Regions from separate parts of the Homo sapiens genome. Here region 2 is linked to region 1. Evidence: promoter capture Hi-C in 16 types of primary human blood cells and fetal thymus (Javierre and others, 2016). All regions are on one chromosome and are shown on one strand. The core of a region is centred on a gene start or on the middle of the fragment in contact, and the rest is flanking DNA. Distances in the headings are between cores, read along the strand shown. Region 1 holds the start of SFT2D1 (SFT2 domain containing 1). Region 2 holds the start of AGPAT4 (1-acylglycerol-3-phosphate O-acyltransferase 4).

Region 1 (5,458 bases), core at 1,248-3,747:
AATAGCAATGGCCCCTGTTGTCCCACATTTCTCTCTCAAACTTTTTTCTCAATCTTTTGACTCTGCTGGACTTTGTCACTCCCACAACCTGGTGTTGGGTCTGATCACCCCAACAATTTTGTGCATGTCCTTGTGTTCAGGAGTCATTGGCTCTTGAAAAAACTATGTGGCCAGGAAGCAGGAAGAGCTAGGAAGTAAGGTTTTTTTGTTTGTTTTTTGAGACAGAGTCTCACTCTGTTGCCCAGGATGGAGTGCAAACGAGCGACCTCAGCTCACTGCAACCTCCACCTCCTGGGTTCAAGCGATTCTCCTGTCTCAGCTTCCCAAGTAGTTGGGACTACAGGCGCCCGCCACCATGCCCAACTAATTTTTGTATTTTTGGTAGAGACGGGGTTTCACCATATTGTCCAGGCTGGTCTCAAACTCCTGACCTTGTGACCCACCCGCCTTTGCCTCCCAAAGTGCTGGGATTACAGGAGTGAGCCACCGCGCTCGGCCTATACTTGAAAATCTTGAAAGCAGTTATGTCAGATATGTGAACCAGAGAAGCCCATCTTGAATAGCGGCTGGGTAAAATGAGGTTGAGACCCACTGAGCTGCATTCCCAGACAGTTAAGTCATTCTAAGACACAGGATAAGATAGAAGGTCAGCACAAGATACAGATCATAAAGACCTTGCTGATGAAACAGACTGCAGTAAAGAAACCGGCCAAATCCCACCAAAACCAAGGTAACAAGAGAGACCTCTGGTCGTTCTCATTGCTACACTCCCACTAGCGCCATGGCAGTTTACAAATGCCATGGCAATATCACGAAGTTAGCCTATATGGTCTAAAAAGGGGAGGCATGAATCCACCCCTTGTTTAGCATATCATCAAGAAATAACCATAAAAATGGGCAACCAGCAGCCCTGGTAATAGACAGCCCTGCTCTGCCTATGGAGTAGCTATTCTTTTGTCCTTCTACTTTTTTTTTTTTTTTTTGAGACGGAGTCTCGCTCTGTCGCCCAGGCTGGAGTGCAGGGGCGCGATCTCGGCTCACTGCAAGCTCCGCCTCCCGGGTTCAAGCAATTCTCTGCCTCAGACTACCGATGTTCCTCTACTTTTTAAATAAACTTGTTTTCACTTGCCCTGAATTCTTTTTGCGCAAGATCCAAGAACCCTCTTTTGGGGTATGGATCCGGACCCCTTTCCCGTAACACTTACGGACATACTCTCTTATTCAACAGAAACATAGTTTTATTCTATAGATTTTACAATCTATTTTCTGACCTTTTAAAGTTAAGGACATAAGGATAAGACTTCTCATATTAGTATGAACAGGCCACATAGAAATATCTTCTGCCTAAAGGAAAAGGATGCTGAGCATTGGACCGTTTCATCACAAGAAGGCGCGACTTGCTTTCCTAGGGTTCCTGTGGTATTTGTTTTTATCTAATTGAGTTTAGATAAAATCTCTACTGAGGCAGTAGGATGGACAATGAAACTTTTTGAGGATCCACCTTTTAACTGAAAGATTTTAGGGAGGAAATGGAGTGGGCAAAGTAATCAAAAGAACAGGCATTCTCATTACCATCTTACCAAGCCTAGAAGCAAACAGAAGAGCAAAACCTATCACTTAATGACTTCTGGAGACCATATTAGACAGGCAGCCCTGATTTTTAATCTCCTTTCTTAGCATGGTGGAAAATGAGAGAGAGAAAAATGCCACTTCCCCATTTCTTAGTGTTTGTTCATCCAGCACGAGCCGGAGAACAGTAAACGCTTGTTCAATGGTTTCACTGTTCACACAAAACTGGAAAAATGGGTTGCATTAGCTATTCCTTTTATAAATAAGATTTCACTCTTTCAAACTCCTAGCTGACCAGTGAACTGAGTAAAGAAATAGCTCTCACAAGGGCAAAGGAGTGAGGCAGCCTCTTGCTATTTCTCCTGAGACGGTCTGAAATACAGCTCCTCGCTTTAATCCTGAGGCAGGTGTTTGTGTCTCCGGATGAGGACACCCAGCTGGGAAGGCTAGCGACGCCCCCAGGGCCACCTCATGGGTGGCAGGGCGCTCTTCGGAGCACGGCCACCTGCCCGCAGGAGCCCTCCGCTCTCCGATTCCAGGCGAGGGGAGGCGCATTCGGGGCCTCGACTTCTGGGAACCCGGGGTGCCGCGGACCCGCCCAGCAAGGCCCCTCGCGGGGCCCGGAGGACGCCAAGTGCAGGGTTCAGTGGTCGTGCCCCAGTCGGGTCTACACTCAATGGCTGTGCGCCAGCTGTGGGCAGGGGGTCCACACCCGCGCTGTGTCCCCGCGCGTTACCACGGCGCACCTCGCGGACAGTGGGAAGGGATAGCCCCACCATCAGCGCCCACTCCGCGGACTTCACGGACCACTACCGGGTCCGAGAGAAAGGCTGGTGAGCATGCGCGCATTGCTACGGCGGCCGCGCTGACGCACAGGAAGCGGGCGGGACCGGACTTCCGGCTGGTCTGTGGGGTTTCGGGTTCGGGGTTTCCTGGTGGGCGTCAGGGGCAGGCAACAGAGTGGCGGCCGCTACGGCCCTGTAACAGGGCCATGGAGAAGCTGCGGCGAGTCCTGAGCGGCCAGGACGACGAGGAGCAGGGCCTGACTGCGCAGGTAGCGAACTTGCGCCCTCGTCCAGTCCCGGGGCTGCCCGCTGGCCCCGGCCGCACTGAGGACCGGCCGAGCGGGTGGGGTGGGTGCGAGGCCGGGGGTCTGGGACTCCTCTGCCCGGCTGGTTGATTTAGGAGGGCTCCGCCTGCTTCCTGGGTAGAATTTGAGAACTTTCCAGTTTTCCATGCGGTCTACTTAAACCCACTTTGAGGCCCCCCCCCGACTCTCCCATCTGGCCTTCTGACTTAGGAATCCGCTAACGTCTGCCCTCGCTTTCCCAAATAATCCATCGCTCCCACGTACTATTTGGTTTTCTGAGCCTGGTGCGGGGTCTGGCCTCGGGCTGTGCAGCGTAAGTAGCTATGCAGGGCATTTATCCTGCAAGCTGCAGTGAGCCGAGACCCTAAAGCTTGTTGCATCTGTTTGTCTTTGGAGGTAAAGGTGGTGTTATGTGTGTGTTTGCTGGGGGGTGGTCTTTTGGAAATAGGGAGACTGGAGGAAAAATAAACAGGACATTGGTAAGTGAAATAATATTGAATTAAAATTTTTCTGTTAAGGCAGTGAGCCCTGGTAAGAGATTTTTTTTTTTTTCTTAATAAAAGCCCTTGTGTCTGCGCCTTACCAGCGAGACTTGATAAGGGTTACTTCCTCCAGCAAGAAGGTTAAAAGTAGCAGTGGAGCAGGAACTGCGGTGTAAGTTTTTTTGTTATTGCATGCGATTATATTGCACGTTATTGTGTGCTGTCGCAGAAGTTGGACGTTTAAAATTGAATTGTATTTCATAAGGATCTTCTATTTGTCTCTCCTGACTTCCTTGTCATTATACTTACTCAGCACTTGGTGTGGGTAGAGTTCTGGGCTACAGTTTTGGGTTCAGAGAGTGTAAGACAAGTATCTGTTCTCATTGCACTCTGTAACTCTGTATATTACCACAGCCACATGTGGCCAATGAATTTTTTTTTTTTTTTTTTTTAGATGGAGTCTTGCTTTGTCGCTCAGGCCTGGAGTGCAGTGGCGTGATCTCGACTCGCTGCAACCTCTGCCTCCCGGGTTCAAGCAATTCTCCTGCCTCAGCCTCCTGAGTAGCTGGGATTACAGGCACCTGCCACCATGCCCTGCTAATTATTTTGTGTTTTTAGTAGAGATGGGGGTTTCACCATGTTGGTCAGGCTGGTCTCGAACTCCTGACCTCAAGTGATCCGCCCACCTTGACCTCCCAAAGTGCTTGGATGACAGGCTTGAGCCACTGCGCCTGGAGCAATTAAATTTAAATTAATTAAAATTAAATAAAATTTAACATTCAGTTCCTTAGTCACAGCAACCACATTTCACATGTTCAGTAGGCACATGTGGTTAAAGGCTACTGTATTAAACAGCGCAGATACAGAACATTTGCATTGCAGAAAGTTCTATTGGACAGTGCTACTCTAAACTTTGGAGATGCAAAGGTAATATCACTTATCTTGAGCCCACTGTCTAGAGGGGAGAAAGATATGTGGAGAAGTAATCAATCAAAGATTAGAGTGACTGGCTGTATAGACAAGTGCTGTGAGTTCAGAGGAGGTGATCGTTCATTAACAAATATTCAAGTTCCTGCATATGTTTGACATTGTTCAAGATGCAGGTGTTAATAACAGTGACCAGTGCAAATACCTCTTTCACATGGAACTTAAATTTTAATTGGAGGAAACAGTGAATAAACAAGTATATAATGTGTCAGACAGCCACAGAAAAAGTCAGAGCAGGTTGAGGAGGTTGGGGTTGCCATATTACTTAGATAAGGCCTCCCTGCCAGGGAGTCATGTGAGCACAGCTCAGAAGAGCTGCTGGGATGTCTGAGCATCCTGTGAATAAAAGCCTCCAAGGCAGATACAGAGTCCCAAGTGGTGTGTGGTCAGCATGTTCAGGGCCAGTAAGGAGGCCAGAGGGGCTCTAGCAGCGGGGCAGAGAAGAGGGACAATTGTAGAAGAAAAGGTGAAGCAGGAAGGGGGATTCTCAATTGTGAGGGTTCTCATAGGCCATAGAAAGGATTTTAGCTTTACTCTGAGTGTGATAGGAAGCCTTTGGGTTTAGAGCAGAGTGGTGGTGTGACCGACTTGGATTTTAAAGGATCACTCTGGCAGCTCTGTGGAGAACAAACTGTAGAGGCAATGTTAGAAGCCCAGAGACTGGGCTGGAGACAAGTACAGTTGTCCTGGCAAGAGATGACTGTGGCTCAAATCAGTGATAGAAGTGGTTTAAAGAGCAAAAAAGCCTGTTTAAAAAACAAAAAAGTGGTCAGATTCTGTAAATGGTCTGAGTGTACAGCCAGCAGGCCACACTGTTGACGGATTGGATGTGTGAGAGTGGGAGGAGGCAAGGATGCCTCATGGCATTCGACCTGAGCATCTGGAGAGGTGGAGTTGCCATTAAGTGACTGTGGGAGGAGCAGGTTCAGGGAGGAAAATCATTTCAGTGTGGACGTGAAGTCTGAGATCCAGGTAGCATCCAAGTGGAGATGTGAGGAAAGCAGTTGGACGTAACACTGTAGAGTTTGTGGGAGGAAATAGGAGAGAGATGAGATCGTCAAGATGAGGTCCAAGGTTTGACCTCTGGTTTTCTCTAGGTGTGTAGAAGTTTAGAGGATGAGCAGAAGCCGGCAAAGACAGCTGAGAGGCGTGGCGAGAGAAGGAGGAGGAGAACCAAGAGAGAAGGATGCCCCAGAAAGTGAGGGAAGAGAGTGCTTTAGGAAGGGGATGGGACCCAGTACTGTTGATGGGTCTCAGAAGTTAAGAGCAGATTACCCGTGGAGGTTATCAGTTGTCACTTCCACGAGAGCAGTCTTGGTGGCTGGATGGG
Region 2 (5,458 bases), core at 1,020-3,519, 5.1 Mb after region 1:
ACTGTTTACATTTCGCTTTCCCTTCTAAGACTTTGAGCACTTTGGGGCCATTTCCATGTCTTATCTGTGTTTTTGTATCTTCAGCAACTAACATGGATGCTCAATAAACATACATTGAACTGAGTTGTTACGTTGTGACCTGGAAATATTCACAATTCCTTGTATAGATAGAAATAGCTAAATAAGGGCACATAAGGATAGACTCTAAATGGCACTCAATAATGTGCATAGGGCTGGGCGTGGTGACTCCCTGCCTGTAATCACAGCACTTTGGGAGGTGGAGGTGGATCACCTGAGGTCAGGAGTTAGAGACCAGCCTGGGCAACATGGTGAAACTTCGTCTCAACCAAAAACACAAAAAATCAGCTGGGTGTGGTAGTGTATGTCTGTAATCCCAGCTATTTGGGAGGCTGCAGCACGAGAATTGCTTGAACACAGGAGGTGGAGGTTGCAGTGAGCTGAGATCGTATCATTGCACTCCAGCCTGGGCAACAGAGCAAGACTCTGTCTCAAAAAAAAAAGCATAGGATTTAATCCATGAATTTTGAATTTCTATGTTAAATTTTTAGAAATAGTAACTTTTTCTCCCATATTTCTCAGCTATATCTGAGATAACTGGGACTGAGCAACATTGTCTAGACAGGCAAAGTGTTAGCAATAATAAGTATAATAATAATTGTAATGTAATAATGGAATGAGGATGTTAAAGTACTGAGATCAGGATAAAAGTTACAATTGTCCAAATTTTAAATTTCCTATCATTTCCACTGAAATCACTGACTGTACTTATAACATTATCAGGAATTTATGCAATTTGTAGGTTTTGAAATAAATTACCATTCAGAATTCAACCGTGAAAAACAGTGTAACTCTACTTGAAAAACACTTTGAAAAACTCAAGTTTCCACCAAATCTAGAAGCACATGGGTCGTAAAACATAGTTCGAAAAGTTACGAGAGATGATGACTACAAGGAACTTTTTATAAAAATCTTTTATAAGCATTACTCTGTGGTCAAATTTATTTTCACATGGATATTAAAACAAGTTATTGCTACAAATGGGTTTCTGTTCTGATCCTTTTTTTGTTTGCCTCACATATCCTTTCTCTTCCACCACATTCTGCTTCACTCTCCCCGTCTCTCATCACAGACAAGAAAAATGCCACCTCCCATAGGACCCACTCCAAACCCTGTTTCCTGAATGATCAATGCCTTCCCCCATCGCAATCAAAAAAGCACTTTCTATTCTGTCTTCATGACACACTGGTTTTGACACTTGCATAGCTGTTAGTAATTCTGCAATGTGCTTGGGCTATTTGTGAGCACATGTATTTTTCCTTTATAGATTATAAACATCTAAAGAACAAGGTTAACCCAGGAGTCAAGTAAATAGTTAAATATTATTTTGACAATGGCTGTAATAGTGGACATTTGAAAGGAATACACCTCAGTATTTTGAAATTGAAATAATTTTCTAGATCCTGGCATTTCTGGACTTTCAACAGCCCACCCTTTTTAAAAATTGTGAAGACACTTTTACTATAAAGGTCTGCCCAGACCCTCTCTGATACACCTGTGTAAATGCCACGTGCATGTGAGCATGCGACAGTACGTGTGTGCACGCCTGTGCAGTGGTAATCAACCATGGTGCTAAGGTTTGAAAACAGAAAATACATCAATCGACCTCCAAGCTTCTTTCATCCCACTTCATAACATCTCAATCTCTTGAGTGCTGAGGCTTATTTTGTTTAAGATGATTTGGACTCTTCTGAGTGCAACGCAATCTCCTTCCAGCACAGCGGACCGAGGAGAGGTGAGGGGAGAGTTTTGAGGGTGGGCATATTGATCCTACGCTTGCTGAATTAAAAATGAGCCAACTGAGGACAATTTCCAGGTTGCAACACAGACGGAGCCGGAGTCTGGGTTGAGGTTAGAGGAGCCGTTAGGGCGCAGGGATGCAACAGGATTTGGGAGAAAGGGGAGAGAAAGCAAGGCCACTTCCAGGGGGCTTTCATTTTTTTTTTATCCTGGCAGCTTCCCGAGCCAGATTTCAAAAGCGATTTCAAACGTGAAGCCAACTGAAGCACTGCCTTACACTAATTGGAAGGGGAAGGGAGTGACTCATATTACACCAGCTCGCTCTTCCCTCTCGGCAACTGCTAACTTGTAGCTTTAAAAGGAAGTGACATGGGTGGGGAGAGACGTCAGCTGAGGACCACTTTTTTTTTTTTTTTCTTCCTGAAGGGTCCACCCCATGGGTGGAGTCTCGCTTTTTCTTTCCAGTGTTGGCTGACTTACAGCTCTTATAAACTAGTGGCAATTTCTGAACCCAGCCGGCTCCATCTCAGCTTCTGGTTTCTAAGTCCATGTGCCAAAGGCTGCCAGGAAGGAGGTATGTGGTCCTGGTGCCGTTCGCAGGCACCTTCCCCGCTGGGTGTGGCTGATGTTTGCATTCCTCTTCCCAGCATATTTTTCTCTCCTGGGCTGGATTTCCTTAGGACCTCTGGAAGGGGTAGGCTCCGGGGGCGGGGGGGGAGTGCAAGGCGGGCGGGGGAAAGGTGCAGGGGGCGCCTGGAGGGAGGCGAAGAGAGGCTCTGCTGGTACAAAAGGACCCTCGCTTTGTGCTGGGCCGGGTGAGCGTCCCTTTCTGGGCTGTGATTTCAAGCTGCTGTTCCTGGCTTCATTTACCCACCCACCCAGCCCCCTCCCGGGGCTAAAGCATTTTCTCTGCTATAGACGAAGCTGGGCGGGGGGTGGTGGTGGGGGGAATGTTCCTATTACATATTGCTCTCTTTTGTGTCATGCAACATGTTCTTCCGTCGCTGACGTTTCTATGGCAACCACAAAAATACTACACAATATGCAGCCCCGATATACATTGATTTATTTGTATTTTGTGTCTAGTTTGCAGCTTTCTGCTCTGCTTCTTGCTTTGGTTTGCTAAAATCCAGCATGGCTTGTGGCTACCCCTCCTCACTTTCATTTTGGTTTTTCCCTATCACAGGAGGGGTGGGGGAGGGGAGTTGTCAAGGAAACAGGCATTGGTAATTACCTCTCTATTTACCTAATTTTCGGCCTATGAATTTCTCCATATCGAGGAATTAAAAAAAGAATGCTTTGATGTTTATGTAAGTCTTCAGTGTCTGGTCTTTTTTTAGAAAACCTAAACACTTCTTAAGATAAGATATTGATCCTGTGGTCAAGCTAAGGGGGAATTAATTCCTTACAGGAGGTGAGATCATTGAAATAAAGTTTTAGAGAGCATTGGAGAATTCGCACTGATAAATGTGATATTGCCTGCCCAGGTTTGCCTAAAAGCTTAAATATTTAAAAGATGGGTCTTTGCTCTCATCTGCACTTATTTAGCTCCAAATCTTAAGTTCAACAAGTATGAGTAACAAATTAACTGCCGGGCAGGATTCTCCGTTTTTCGTTTTCGTGCATTGTTCTTAGATGGATTAGCCACGCTATTCACTCTCTTCAAGGTGAGGGTTGCTAGACTTTTTCAAAACTGTGGAAGGATTAACTCATCTGTGATTAGTCAACGACTCTCAGTTGGAAAAAAAGTATCTTGAGAGAAGGGAGAATGTGTGTGTTTGTGTGTGTGTGTGTGTGTGTGTGTGTTTAGGGAAATGGGAGGCGGGCAGGGAGAACAGGGCACATCTTGAGTTCTACGTTAAAAGGATTCCATCTTCTGAATATTCTCTATGGGGAGAAAAACTGTTATTCAGAAAAAATATGAAATGAGAAAATTATTATCTACTTAGTAATAAGCAAAGTTAATTATAATTAGAATCAAATAACACATCTCTTAGAAAGACATAGCCTCTTAACAGGTACCGGCTAAACTGATGCTTTTATTCAGTACGTCTAAGGAAGCGTTTGATAAGGGATACCATTCTTCTGATGGGCATCCCAAATAATTAGCTTTTATAAAATAGATAAGTAGTAATCCCATTCATGACTCTTAAAATTATCTATAATTTAAGATAAACATGTGTGAAGGTCACTTAGCCCTCATACCTTCCGGCTGCTAAAGCCAAAATCATTACTTATAAACCTTGAGCAACCCTGCCATGTGGAAGCAGGAAGAATGGGTGGTTTCAGTGAGGTTCTGTTTGCTGTGATCCTTATCTAAATATGCTATCATCTATGTCTTATCAAATCTGCTATAAATCCAGAGGTCCTAAGTAATTCAGGTAGAAAAGTTACCTGAAAATGGGGCAAAATAGCATGGCACAAAACAAACCAGAGCCACATGGAGTTAAAGACGAGAACTATTTAAAGGGCATAACACACAGAAAAGTATTACTAAAAAGAATATGACACTCATTTTGAAAAGCACATGTTAGTACACAGAGAAACGGTTGGATTGTGAGCATCTGATGTTTGCAAAGAATTCTGAAAAGCAGCCAGGCTGAAATTACTGTTTTTCCTGTCTGAAAATGGTCCTCAAGGGCAGATTTGCCACATGACCTTCCAAAGCAGATTGACAGCATGTAAATCAAAGTCTGCGATGTCGGTTCTCTTGAGTTTCCAGATTCAAAATTTCACAGCAAAAAGCCTAATGGAATAGAACTGAAAGGAAAAAGAGCAAGACTTCCTCAGAAGCACAGCCAAAACAAAAACAACAAAAAACCCAAACCCAATAAACAAACAAAACACTGTCTGATATTCAGATGCTGAGTAGAGGTTAAAGCAGTTAGCAGCTTTGGCCTAGGGAAGGTAAGTGGAGCTGTGAGTATAAAGTAAACGTAGGGTCCCATGGAAGAGGCTGACAGAGGTGACACCCAGAGGGTGAGTCAGCCGTCATTTTATTGGGATTTTACTGTCTGCAAGGCTCTGCTGTGAAGTTGGTGAAGAAGGCAGCAGTTGTAGTCTGTGCTCTCAAGCTTAAAATCCACCAAACGGGTGGCGAAAAGAAGAGCAGAGCACCCAGCTGGAAGGAAGGGGGAGGCAACAGCCAGTCAAGGAGACGCAATTAGTATGAGAAGAATACTAGAGAGTCTTCATCCTGCTGCTGAAGCTTTATAGGAGAGGAGGCAGACGGTTCAAGGGAAGAAGGAGAGGGTGTCTTAGATAGCAAAGGTGGATGGTAAGAAATGGATCATGGTTCAGGGTTCTTAACTCCAAGAAGGGAGAAGTCAGTCTTTAGTATAGAAGTAGAGCAGGTATACTCTGTGCTGGTTGAAAGCATAAGTAGATGTAAATTGGGGACAGAAGTTTTTCTTAATCAGAAAAAGAAGGACTGTTAGAAGACTGAACAGAAGGCAGAATCCTTCCTAATCCAATACTTTTTTAGCTTCAGCTTAACAACGAAAGGCCAGACTTACACTAGACTTTAAACAGGTATGAAACTGGGGAAGACGCAACCAGGAACTTACCCGGAATGTCATCTTCATAATTCCTGCCATTGCCATTGTTTTAAATTATTGGATGCTCAAATGAGGGTTTGGTA

The links. Contacts are between HindIII fragments. The CHiCAGO score rates a contact against its expected background, and 5 or more counts as called.
Region 2: the fragment with the promoter of AGPAT4 here is called in contact with the fragment with the promoter of SFT2D1 in region 1 in 1 of 17 cell types (M0 macrophages); the score reaches 5.2 in M0 macrophages.

The regions. Positions count from the first base shown.
Region 1 is chr6:166,339,584-166,345,041 of GRCh38, reverse strand. SFT2D1 (SFT2 domain containing 1) reads left to right here and starts at 2,497. Exons shown (of 8, transcript NM_145169.3): 1 at 2,497-2,623. The coding sequence starts at 2,561. It overlaps LOC100289495 (a long non-coding RNA gene), which reads right to left and starts at 2,411. Exons shown (of 2, transcript NR_040022.1): 1 at 1,895-2,411. RefSeq lists an enhancer at 1,672-2,565 and a silencer at 2,627-2,786. The HindIII fragment of the contact is 4,850 bases long and covers 1-3,031 here.
Region 2 is chr6:161,270,872-161,276,329 of GRCh38, reverse strand. It overlaps AGPAT4 (1-acylglycerol-3-phosphate O-acyltransferase 4), which reads left to right and starts at 2,269. Exons shown (of 9, transcript NM_020133.3): 1 at 2,269-2,392. The HindIII fragment of the contact is 1,627 bases long and covers 1,694-3,320 here.